3 separate regions of the Homo sapiens genome follow, and all the other regions are linked to region 1. Evidence: promoter capture Hi-C in 16 types of primary human blood cells and fetal thymus (Javierre and others, 2016). All regions are on one chromosome and are shown on one strand. The core of a region is centred on a gene start or on the middle of the fragment in contact, and the rest is flanking DNA. Distances in the headings are between cores, read along the strand shown.

Region 1 (4,267 bases), core at 702-3,201:
AGTCATATATAATGCAATAGAGAATTTACTAAATTATGTATTAACCATAGTACAAGATAATGAGCAAGATATATTATTCTCAGCCCCCTAACCAATGTACAAATTTGCATCAACTTGATATTATATATTAAATTAATGAAGTTATGGACTTTAATTTCTTCTGTGTCTAAAACTGGAAGAGGGAAGAAAGCATTTCCTAACATTCTATCATAAAAGAAAAATGTTAAGAGAAACTTTCCTTTAAAACCATGCTTCATATGTCCCCTTCGGTGTCTTGATAAAATGTTATCATACAGGAAAACATAAGCTTCTAAATCAAAGATTTCCTTCAATGTTTTCAATTTGCATAGATCACAATATAACACACACATTATTTGAAACATTTTTTGACTTCAGACAAATGCCTCAAGATTAATCATATTAAGCTATATTTGTCATCATTACTGCTTCTTTATTTAAAAAAAAAAAGGAAATAAAGCAAGCAATACATAGCATTCAATTCCCTTGATAAGTTAAAATCATTTCCCCCTTCTATCCCCAAATGAACTTTATTCTATTCCATTTAGCCAAAGGTACACAGCCAACACATCTTTGTGTTATACTGTGGCAAATCAGGGTTTAGATACCAATGCAACTATTATCAATGGCTCAGAACCAAACATTGTTAACAAAACACACTGAGTGGATCCTCCCTCTGCGTGTGTGTCTACATGTGCCCATTCATAACATGACCCTCCTACACACACAGAAACTCAATTTCTACTGAATTACAAAACATCTTCACATTATTAGAAGTGTATAATAAAACTGTCCTCTTTAATGTTCAAAGAAAGAATAATTTCTAAAGCGATGAGAGAGAAGAGTTAATACCAGGATTGCTGCTACCCATCAACTTTAATTCAAAGCAAAGTACAACTCAATGTCATTTTTACCTCTACTGTAGCCTCGACGGATACAAAATTAACTTCGCTGTAGAATAAAGTATCCTGGCATCCCAATGGATTATTTACTTCTCCGATTTGACAGAACATATACGTGAGTCTTTTGTCCCTCCCACAGCATCCCAGGGTGTCAACATCATCTCTGCCACAGCAAATGACGAGCAAATCCCTCAGATCATTACTTCAGCACCCTAAGTACAAGAAAGTCGCGGCCTTCACTGTCGTTACAACACAGCAAACAGATTCAGTAGTCCCATGTTCCTTTCCATGATAGTTGGGGAGGCGGGGTGGGAAATAAGCGCTCAGATTTCCTAGGAATCCTTCGTGTTCGGTGCTGGTACCAGAAGTGGCATGGGTACAAGTGATATGTGGGTCACCCACAGAGAGAGACGCAGAACGAAGCTTCGTGACCCTCCAAGTTCAGTGAAGACACCCAAAGCCTGGGGCAAAACGAGGCGGCAGCCTTCGGGGAAATCGGGCAGAACCAGAACGATCTCCGAGATGGAGAGTGACGGGGTCTGGCACGAGCCCCGGGCTTGCAGCGAACTGAAAGTCCCCGGTACCCCTCCCCTCCTCAGCAGGCTCGGTCACTCGGCGAGGGGTGCGGCCGGAGGAGGGGGTCGAGACTGGGGGAGGGCGGCGCCCTGGGGGGTCGGGGGGTGTGTCCTACCTGGGCCGTGGCGGACGCAGGGGTTTCTGGAGGAGGGCTCTGGTCCAGCTCAGGACCGGGACCGGCGGGGGTTAACCCTCGGCAGGCGGGACCGCCACTGCCTGCCCATCCCCCACCGCCGACTGCGGCGGGACCCGAGCGCGGCTTCCAGGGCCGGCCGGCTGGGTAGTCCCCTGGGGTACCGTCCGCGTTTACTGGCGGCGGCGGCGGCGGCTGCTGCTGCTGTTACTGCTGCTGCCGGCTCCCCCAAGCCGCTGCTCTTGTGCCAGCACCTGCTCCCCCTCCTGCCGCCGCCGCCGCCTCGTCCCCACCGCTCCCATCGCCGCTGCGGCGACTACTGCAGAGCCCGCTGACCCGACCCGACGTTATTCTCCCCCCTCGTAACCCGACACAGCCTAGCCCACCTGCCCTGCCAGCGCGCACGCCCACCTCTCCGCTACAGGTGCTGATTGGAGAGTGCGTTCCGAACTCGCAGCGTCGGTTGGCTAGTCCCATTGCCTATCACGAAGGGGGCGGAGAGTCGGGCAGAAACCGTCTCCGCCCCCCACCGGAGAATTGCCGCTATCTTCAGGTTTGCCTGAGAGGGCGAGTTACCGGGAAAGGAGCATCACAATGGCAGCGCGCATGCGCCTAGGAATTCTGGGCCTCGTAGTTCCAGCCATAGCCGCAACTCCCCGCCTGTCCCGAGGAGAGAAGTAGGGCTTCCGAGACAAGTAGTTTGCGCACATAGGTGTTCTCCTAGCGTGACAGTTAAATTGGTTATAGAGGGATGGTTGGGACCCCATGGTTGGGCTTTTCGGAATAAAATCGGAAATGCTTTGTCACGATACGAAATTACACACTGAGGCAGTCGCGATGAAGGGCCCAAATCGTGAGGCCCTGCAAGCCTTAAGGATCCATCCTCTTCCTCAGCATCAGCGCTGACAGCATCCCGCAAATTGGCGCCGTCCCCAGAACCGCCTAACGTGAAGCTAATCATCTTTGGGGGACTGGGGAAGGGCCTTAGGTGTGACGAGGAAAGGAGATGGGCACTTCCATAAACGAATGTCAACTTGGAGACCGGAGTGTCCTTACGGTTTCACAACCCAAGAACAAGATTTCATTCCCTTTGTGAAACACCACCAGCTAAAGACTCAATGGCCAGCCCCGGTGCACACCAGTATGCGATGCTGAGCAAGTGTATGCGGGAGGTGCTCAAAGACTTTCAAAGAAAAGCGAGGAGGGCGGAGCAAGGACGCTGTGCAGGATGCGTTTCTATTTAGTGTTGTGTCAGTCGCTTTGGCGAAGGAAAACCTTAAGATTAAGCACCTCTCCCATCTTTGCCCACCAGTGTACAGTAGAGAAAACACATGAAAAACGCTAAACAGCTTTCCTAAGGCTATAAACTAATCAGTGGCAAAACCAAAACTCAGGTCTCTCATACGCCCCACATCTAATGTCCTTTCTACTTAAGAATCACAATGATCCCCAGGGTTCTGCCATGAATGGAAAGAATGTAATGAATTATGAACTTCATTTTTACTTTAAATCCTTTTCTTCACTCAAGTGACATTGTCATTAAAGCTGATTAAGAATATAGAAAGGTAAATGACTAATCCTATATTCAATCTTGGAACTGTTCCTATAGAATCTGTTTCTTCTTGCTCAGGAAGTGCCACAGCCTCTTGCCATTCTTTTTAAAAACAGCAGGCATCTCTACTCTCTGTCATGTCCAGATCCTTGGATTGAAAGCAGGACAAAATGTACATTAAAGGCAAGTGATGATGCAGCTCATCTTGTTCTATGCAAACATAAAGATGTTGCCAAATTGTTTTTTATTTCTACTGATTAAAACCACACGTTACTTTTTCTATTACTATGTCTAATAGAGTACTTCATTCATTTCAGAGTATTGACCAATCACATAATTTGAATAAGAAAACATTAGGGTTTCTGTAAATATTTTTCTTTAAAATTAAAGAAGTTTATAGGGGCCAGGCACAGTGGCTAATGCCTGCAATCCCAGCACTTTGAGAGGCTGATGTGGGAGGATCACTTCAGTCCAGGAGTTCAAGACCAAACTGGGCAATGTAAGGAGACATAAGGAGACTCCTTCTGCACACACACACACACACACACAAAATGATCACGGAAGCATGGATTTAAAATTTTTTTTAATTAGCCGGGCATGGTGGCATGCCCCTGTAGTCTCAGCTATTCGGGAGGCTGAGGCAGGAGGATCGGTTGAGCCCAGGAGTTCAAGACCAGCCTGGGCAACATAACAAGACCTTGTCTCTACACACAAAAAATTTTTAGTTAGCCAGCCCTGTCTCTACTAAAAATACAAAAATTAGCCAGGTGTGGTGGCATGCACCTGTAGTCCCAGCCACTTGGGAGGCTGAGGCAGGAGGATTGCTTGAGCCCTGGATGTCAAGGCTGCAGTGAGCTATTATCGCATCACTGCACTCCAGTCTGGGCAACAGAGATACCCTGTCTTTAAAAAAGAAAAAAAAAAAGTTTCTAGGGAAAAAATGTCCAGATTCATTGAAATTAGGCTTAGCAATAAAAGCCTCCCCTTTTCTCCAGTCTTTTCCATTTTAGAATTATTGAGCTGTCCCCAGAGATACTCTTTCAGTCAGGCTAAATGTCAATGTAATATGTTATTCAAGAGCTGGTA
Region 2 (4,267 bases), core at 660-3,159, 250 kb before region 1:
AAAAATTAGCTGGGCGTGGTGGCAGGCACCTGTAGTCCCAGCTAGTTGGGAGGCTGAGGCAAGGGAATTGCTTGAACCTGGGAGGCGAAGGTTGCAGTGAGCTGAGATTGCACCACTGTACTCCAGCCTGGGCATCAAAGTGAGACTCTGTCTCAAAAAAAACAAAACAAAATAAACAAAAAGACATTCATTACTGGGGAGGTGTTATGAAGTCGAAAAAGCTGCAGGGGCTTAGGATCCAGAGAGACCTGATTTCTAGTTATAGCTCTTCTATTTGGTATGTGGGTTTCTCAGGCAGTTTATCCCCTGTGAGCTTCAGATTCCTCATCAATAAAAAGGAGATGTTAATACCTGTATTTTGAGTTGTTAAAGGATAAAGTAATATGATTTGTATAAAGTACTCAGCATAATGCCTAGGACATATTGAATAGTCAATAAATGATAAAGATATGTCTAAAATTTAGCATCCCGGTTGCCATGTTGCTGCCTTTTCCTAACATAGCTATGTGGGTCTTAAGCAAATTTGCCATAATCTGAGGTCTAAAAGGCCTTGTCTTCAACTAATCCACTGATTCATTTGTACTAACTCCAGTTTCCCCCTCCTCTCTTACACTCTCTTCCAGTTCTTTTTTATTCTAGAGGTGCTTTTCTCCTATTTGTGCTTTTACCCTTCTTAGAATCTGGTGTCTGTTAAACTTCATCTGCGGACCAAGAAGGTAAAAATCCTGTGTTTCCATAAATCTTCACAAAATGCTTGTTTGATTGAGACTTACTGGATCAAACTTGGACCACATCAACCTTTGCCCCTTAGGGAAAAGCCATACTTTTGCATGTACTTTCTCGGACTAGAGAATTTTTCTGACCAATGGCTGTAACTATTCCCTAACTTTAGGCTGTGGGACAGAAAGGAGTTTGCCCACACTTGCTGGACTTTGCAAATAGCTTGGGCTGCTTTGTGGTATATTTTTTAGCTCTACCATCTCAGGGGCTTCCTGGGCTGTAGAGTGAGTGGGCAGAGGGTCAGAACAGCCGGGACCAAAGTTGAGAAGTGGTACCGACCAGGCTGGGATGGGATGAGAAGTGGTACAGATGAGGCTGGGAAGACAGTGAGAATATTCTAATGTGGACTCTCCTGTAGGGCAAGGCTCTGTCCCTTTTAATTCTCATTAAAATGGCTTTTTTCCCCCTTTAGGAAGGGACAACAAAAATAGGAAGGATTGACTCAGACCAGGAACAGGACATTGGTAAGTGGCAGAGTATATGAGTCCAGCATTTTGGGGCTAGTATTTGTGCCCGAAAGGTTTCTTCGAGGACTTTGATGATGCTCTGAGAAGAAGGGAATCATTGGCGTATTCAGGGCCTGCTTCTCTTTCTGCTGCTAGGTTTCAGGTCTGGGACGTCACAGGGGGAGACCCACGCAGTGGGAGGATTTCAGGTCTGGGTGGTTTCAGGTCAGCTCTTCCTCTTTTATTATGGTATGAGGTCTTCCAGATTTTGGATTCTGATCTCACAGAAAGAAATGGAGAGGGTGTTTCCCTGCATCGTCCTCCCACCCAAGTGACCACCACCTCTTTTGTAGTCCTGCAGGGTCAGTGGATTGAGAGAGACCACTGCACTATCACCAGTGCCTGTGGTGTAGTTGTTCTACGACCTGCCCGTGGGGCCCGCTGTACAGTCAATGGCCGGGAGGTCACTGCCTCCTGCCGTCTGACTCAAGGTAGGACTGTCTGTAGCCCTGTTTATCCCAAGATGAGTGATGGACCAGCTCCAGTTTCATGGGCCCAAAGAGCTCAGTGAAGCAGGCTTTAAAAATGGATCACCCAGCCTCTGCACCCTGAAGTCTGAAGATTTTCTAATATGATCCTATTCCCATAAACAAGCCTTAATTCCAAAGTCTTGGAGTGAAGAATGACTGTATGAAATTTGTACCTGTGTTAATTAGCTCTGTCTCCCTAGGAAAGTCTCTGAGCCTCAACTTTCCTCATCTATAAAATGGGGATAATAATAGAATCATTGTGAGGATTGAATGAACCTTATAGTTCTTAACAGTGTGCTTTGCACTCTGTAAACACTCATTATCATTATTACTTTAATTACCGCTACTGTTATTAATCTATGCAAATTCTGTCTGTTCTTTTGAGACTGAGCTGAGATTCCTCCTCTTCCATCAAGTGTTCCCTGACTACTCCACCTGGAACTCAACTTCCTTTCCCTTGGAATAGTAGAGTTCTTCCTGTCTGTCTTATTAATTCAAGATGTATGCTGTGAGATGCAGAATTAATATGTATCTTATCAACTCAGCAAAATTATCAGTTATCGAGGGCATGACTTTGTCTCACAGAGCAGTGCCGTACACATAGTATGTACTCCAAAACATGAGCTGTTGATTGAATTCTCATTTGTCTCTGTGCTGCAGGAGCTGTCATAACCCTGGGGAAGGCACAGAAGTTCCGATTCAACCACCCAGCAGAGGCTGCTGTCCTGCGGCAGCGAAGGCAGGTTAGCAGGGCTGTGTTTTCTAGGTTATTGCTGGCCTCCCTGTTTCCACCTTTTAGATGAAAAGCCAAGCTGGGAGAGGTGGAGGCGATGACAGCAGCCTCACTGTGCTTTCTTCCTTGTTCAAGGTTGGAGAGGCTGCTGCTGGTCGTGGCTCGTTGGAGTGGCTGGATTTGGATGGAGATCTCGCTGCCTCCCGGCTGGGTCTCTCCCCTTTGCTTTGGAAGGAAAGGTAAGAAATAGCTGCTTATACTGATGTGGAACCTACTGGGTTCGCTTCTTAGTCCATGACAGCATGGATCAGGGTGGGGGTGGGGGGTGATTAATGTAGCAGCCAAGGTCTGAATGAGCCCTTGTCTGAATCAACTTGGGCAAGTCATTTGATGATGCTGAACTAGCTGCTAAGTTCGTAGTTGGCAGGGAATTGGTCTTGGCCCTTGTTCATTTCCTCTTTGGTATTTCGACTTTTTTCATCACTGAAAGAGGTACATTATTTGATGTTCCTGTGGCCACTTTTCTCTCTCCACAAAATTTAGCTGTGCTGTGTTTGTGGACATCTTTGTTCTGAGCTTACCTTCCCATATACTCCTTTAAGTTCTGGCCTGTGTGTGAGCTCATAGTATATGTCACGTAGTGTATGTGAGCTCATAGCTTCCAGAACGTATGGCTTTCTCTGAGTTTTTAAAGATAGTGTGTGACTGAGAAGGCTTTCTTTCTCATAACCAAGAATCCAGAACTGTGCATAGAGGGGCAGAAACTATAGGAACAATATGAAAATATCTTTTGGTTCTACCCTCTCATACCCACTTTGCCTGCATTGTAACTATGAAACATTGAGTCAGAGTTTTATATGGGATTGATGGCAACTACTTTTCTACTTCATACTTCATCCGTTTCTACATAAAACACCCTTCCCAGATCCAGAAGCCTTGCAGATTTGGTACTGGGAGTCCTTCTATTCCTGTACGTCAAAGTGACCTCTGCCTTAGAGATTTCCTTTAGAAAATTTCAGCAGGGGACTTGGTGCCTGTGACATCACTGGTGTTGGGAGGCTGCCAAACACCTTGAGCACAGGGTCTCAGTAGTTATGATGGCCCGTAGTTTCTTCAGAAGGATCCAGCAGTTCTTTCCTCAGGCCAGCAGCATTTGATGGCAGATGAAGACAATCTTATGTCTGACCTTGGCAGTGAGGAATGTTGGATACAGGAGCAGAAGTGCTCTGATCAGGGCTGGGCACGGTGGCTCCTGCCTGTAATCCCAGCACTTTGGGAGGCCGAGGTGGGTGGATCACAAGGTTAGGAGATCAAGACCATCCTGGCTAACATGGTGAAACCCCGTCTCTACTTAAAAAAAAAAAAAAAAAAAAAAAAAAAAGCTGGGCATGGTAGCACATGCCTGTAGTCCTAGCCACTCAGGAGGCTGAGGCAGGAGAATCACTTGAACCCAGGAGGCAGAGGTTGCAGTGAGCCGACATTGCGCCACTGCACTCCAGCCTGGGCGACAGGGCGAGACTCCGTCTCAAAAAAAGAAAAACAAACAATGCTGTGATTCAGGAAAGCATGAACAGCAGGCAAGTCCTCATAGGAGAGCTGCTGAGTGAAGGATGCTACAACAGAAATTGCGTGAAGGATGATCCTAGTGTTGAGTAACTGAGAGCTCTATGGGATGGAGAATAAGGTAGAAGAGGTGACACAAGGTGGACTCAGGACTTAGGCTGGAGCTTTTGCTTTGTCAGAGTGACTTTCCTTTTTTGTAGTGAAGTCATGAAAGT
Region 3 (4,267 bases), core at 566-3,065, 180 kb before region 1:
CGTGTCTCTAATAAAAATACAAAAATTAACTGGGCGTGGTGGCACGCGCCTGTAGTCCTAGCTACTGGGGAGGCTGAGGCAGGAGAATCGCTTGAACCTGGGAGGCGGAGGTTGCAGTGATCCAAGATCACGCCACTGCACTCCAGCCTGGGTGACAGAGCGAGACTCCATCTCAAAAACAAAACAAAACAAAAAAACCTGAGAGAGGATTTTGAAGGTTGCTGCTCAGTGACAAATCAAGCAAGGGAATCCAAGCGGAGAAAAACAGATGGCACGAACATTCCATGTCAAACCAAACCAGGAGGGGTGAGGCAGTGCCCTTGTGAATGCCTCCTGAGAGTTGCTCTGGTTCAAAGGAAGGTTACGGGCGGAAGGATGAGGGTGGGGGTGCAGGAATCTCTCTAGTGGCAGAAGGGGTATTTCCTATGGAGAAGGAAAAAGTACCTCCAGCCAGACAGAATAATGGACTAAAAAGGAGCTTTTAATATTTTAATTTTATTACAGGAAAACATCTCCTAACTGCAGGGACACTTAACACCTAGCTTCTATTCAGTCCTGGGCTGCTTTTTCTAGGGAACTTCTAGATGTGGTACTGCATTTACAGTAACACTATCTGCTCCCCGTTGATCTTGTAACATCTGGTGTATTCAATAACTTTATTAAATTAGAAAAATATTTTCCACTTTTGAAATCCAGACCATCACACAAACAGAACTAGATTTTGCATGCGGAATGAATATTTTATTACTAGGTTATAAAAATAAAATACAAAATAATTTTAAAACAGAACTTAAAACACTGTACAAAGCTTTAATATGATACAAATGGGAAAATTAAATAAATAATTACACTTTTATGTACAGGTGGCCTATACAAAAGCACTCCATGTTTCTGCCGATACTCTGTCCTTGGTTGCCTGAGCAAAATTGTATAAAGGGAGCTGCTTGGAGGGGAAAGGAACACAATAAAACGCCTCTGGAGGTATTTCAAAGAGTAGTTTCTCATCTCTCTGATTTCAGGAAGAGGAGAAGAGAGGGAGAGAAAAGTGGAATTATTAAAGTCATCTAACTCATTGGTCTTGTTCAACAAGAAAGAATTCTGGTTTGTGGCTGAATCTGATTTAACAGCTGCCAATAGCTCATTACTTCTAAGATGTATATCTAATTCAAAACTAGATGCTCCCCCCTCCCTCTTTTTTCCCTAAAAGCTGGGAACTTGTAAGTAAATGGCCTAGTGAAATAGACACTGGCTATTTTAGAAAAAGGGTCAGAAGGTAGACCAGGAACTATGTATCAAGGAGAAGTAAGTGAGGCTCAAGCCCAGGCCACCTAGGCTGTGTTTATTCAGTCCACCCAATCCAATGTCAAAGCCCCAAGTGGGCCAGTGTTACCTTTATCTTCCCATCTTTGTATTTCTGAAAGCTTTGTCACCTCAGTGGACTACTTTGGCTGATGAACAGTTCAAATAGAAGATTGTTTTGGAAAAAGTCCCAAGGGCTTTCCCCTTCCTGGGTAGCTCCCTATAAGTCAAATTCAAGTTCTGGTAGCCTTGTTTACCCCTTGTAGGCGAGTGAAGAATGCCCACACAGAGTTCAGATGTGGTGAAATGCTGGGCATTGATTCCTCAGGATTTAAACTGCATATTATTAGAGAAAAAGAGCATCATATGGCAAGGGTAGTCTATATAAAAACTTGGTTTACTCAATGTTTTTAATTAGGCGAGTGAACACTTATGTACATAATATTAAATAATATTAAACTAATAAAAAGAGAGGTAAAATTCCTATCCATTGTTATTGTAAAATTATATCATCAGCAAATTCTATAGTCACATGGGCTCAAAGATCTGCCTCATCCAATCTTGTTCCCTAGGTCAAGGAACCCAGAGCCAGGGTACCTGGGAGGCATGGTCAGCATCGCCAGTGTACATATATTCTGTGCCCATACTACCACTAACGCTTCCAGCTGAAGAGGAGGCAGAAAACCGTTACATTGCACAGGGCCATGAAAGGAAAGGCTTCACTACTTTTACATGTTACCTTAAGACCAAAGATCCAGCAAAGTCTAAGGAAATATCCTAATCATTACTGTGTAATGTTACTTTTTTGCTATTCAGTGTCTTGAGATTGTGTGGAAATTCAAGGTGACCTGATCTTGTCACATACTTTAATTTTCTGATCCAAATTTGCTGAAAGGGAATAATTAAACATCAAGCTTAAATATTTTTTTAAGTAGGAGCAGACAATCACAACTGAATTAGAAGACGTCTTAATGGGCATAGACTTTATTTTTGTTTTACTTTTTTTTTTTTTTTTTTTTGAGACGGAGTCTCACTCTGTCGCCCAGGCTGGAGTGCAGTGGGGCGATCTTGGCTTACTGTAATCTTCTGCCTCCCAGGTTCAAGCGATTCTCCTGCCTCAGCCTCCTGAGCATCTGGGACTACAGGCGCCCGCCACCATGCCCAGCTAATTTTTTGTATTTTCAGTAGAGACGGGGTTTCACCCTGTTAGCCAGGATGGTCTCGATCTCCTCACCTCGTGATCTGCCCGCCTCAGCCTCCCAAAGAGCTGGGATTACAGGCATGAGCCACTGCGCCTGGCCTTGTTTTACTTTTTAAAATTTCTGTGAGCTGCTCTAGAAAACTAAAGGACGAAAACTTTACTGTCATAATTCCAAGTTCAGTCAGGGATTTCTCAGAATTGAGGTGTGCAGCATCCAGATTCCCCTTTATGTGGATAGGGATCCCTGTGCCATGTCTTGCACTTACCTAAGAACTATAGGAATTCTCCATGTACCTCCTACAGTTTTTCTAGCAGTGTTGGACAATGGATTCTAAAGGTTCCTGAGACTTTGTTAAATTTCTCATAATTCCAGAGGGAAGGCCAAAATATTGAGAATACTCAATGATAGGATGAGTTTCCACTCTACTTCCTTATCCTCAAGGCACACACCAGAGTTCCACTGGGTGAGGACAGGGAAGTAGGATGTCCCAACACCCTCTGAGGGTTTTCATGCATTAATCCCGCCATATGGGCTGATGGTTGGAACTGCCTTTAGTTCTCTAAGTAAAGGTCTAAAAATGCACCTGTGGTTTCTGAACTTGGGTATACGCTGATACATAAGGACTACCATAGAAGTTACATGCCTTAATCCTGTAATACTTTTGTGTGGTATCATTCTGCTAATATATTGTCCACAGGGCCAAACCCCAAGTTACACAGCGCAACAGTACTTGTCAACCACTCCATCTCCTCAGTGACACAGGTGCTAAAGTACCTCTCCCCTGAGGCAAAGTCCCGACACATCTGTGGTAAGTGCACATAAACAGAAATGGGCAGATTTTGAAAGTGAATGCAAACAACTTAATTCCAAAATACATAAACATGACAGAAGAAGTGGTTCTCTAACATATGCCATGTTTGATCAATATAAAGAATAAGTTTTTAAAATATAAAAGACTTTGATCTCCAAGACTAAATCTAGACTTATCTGCAAATAAGTAAATTTTCAAACAGCCAGGGGAAAATGCATTTTTTTCACCGAGTCTCACTAAATCATTCTGAATTCTGGATCCTGCTTCTCGTATCACCAATTCCTAATGTTAGGAATGTAGAACTGTCTGCTCTTGGGGAAAAAAAAAGCATCTGTTTTTAATTCAAAGCTCTGGGTATAGAAAAACTAATTATGGTTTTAGCTATCTGTGTCTGGGTTTATAAAACATGCACCAATGTACACTTTCTCCTTGTAGATTGAATGCAACTATAGAAGTATTAGCATAAAAATATGTGGCCTGGAAGGAATCTCTGAAGATACTGAAGAACCTCAAGTTCCCTACATTGCTAGGAGCCAAGGGAAGGAGACACTGTACACCTAGAGCGCTGAATTAGCAGCTGAGGTTTTAGTATTTGAAAGCAAATAATATAAAGCGAGTAATGTCTACAGTGGGTCTCAGTTACCATTTGGCTACTTATTTAGGACTCGATTAACTTGGCAACTTTTACAAAAAACATTCACATCACAACATGCAACTTAAAAAACAGTTAATGTAACTATGCCACTGTCAGCAAGGCCAGCTTGCATACCAGAGTTAAGAATGAGAGTGTCTGTCTGCCTAGGGCTTAACATTCAAAGATATTTATAATCTGTGTTTTAAGGTTAAATTTTATATGACCCAGTTTTCCTTCTTTGTTCACTATACACTAAAATTAAACGCCTCTACGCTGTGCAAGAAATCACTATGTGTGATTTTACTATTTCAACCAATCCAT

The links. Contacts are between HindIII fragments. The CHiCAGO score rates a contact against its expected background, and 5 or more counts as called.
Region 2: a contact is called between a fragment that was not itself captured here and the fragment with the promoter of TTBK2 in region 1, in 2 of 17 cell types (M0 macrophages and megakaryocytes). The highest score is 6.1, in M0 macrophages.
Region 3: a contact is called between a fragment that was not itself captured here and the fragment with the promoter of TTBK2 in region 1, in 16 of 17 cell types (endothelial precursors, erythroblasts, megakaryocytes and 13 more). The highest score is 30.3, in endothelial precursors.

The regions. Positions count from the first base shown.
Region 1 is chr15:42,918,827-42,923,093 of GRCh38, forward strand. It overlaps TTBK2 (tau tubulin kinase 2), which reads right to left and starts at 1,952. Exons shown (of 15, transcript NM_173500.4): 1 at 1,612-1,952. RefSeq lists enhancers at 1,270-1,770, 1,771-2,271, 2,474-2,573 and a silencer at 1,544-1,953. The HindIII fragment of the contact is 8,148 bases long and covers 1,342-4,267 here.
Region 2 is chr15:42,673,248-42,677,514 of GRCh38, forward strand. STARD9 (StAR related lipid transfer domain containing 9) reads left to right here. Exons shown (of 33, transcript NM_020759.3): 17 at 1,193-1,244; 18 at 1,580-1,717; 19 at 2,417-2,499; 20 at 2,625-2,728. Among named protein-coding and RNA genes, the nearest start is that of CDAN1, 62 kb to the right of the region's middle. The HindIII fragment of the contact is 9,626 bases long and covers 1-4,267 here.
Region 3 is chr15:42,738,255-42,742,521 of GRCh38, forward strand. It overlaps TTBK2 (tau tubulin kinase 2), which reads right to left. Exons shown (of 15, transcript NM_173500.4): 15 at 476-4,267. TTBK2-AS1 (TTBK2 antisense RNA 1) reads left to right here and starts at 864. Exons shown (of 3, transcript NR_186317.1): 1 at 864-981; 2 at 3,199-3,309; 3 at 3,748-4,267. The HindIII fragment of the contact is 792 bases long and covers 1,420-2,211 here.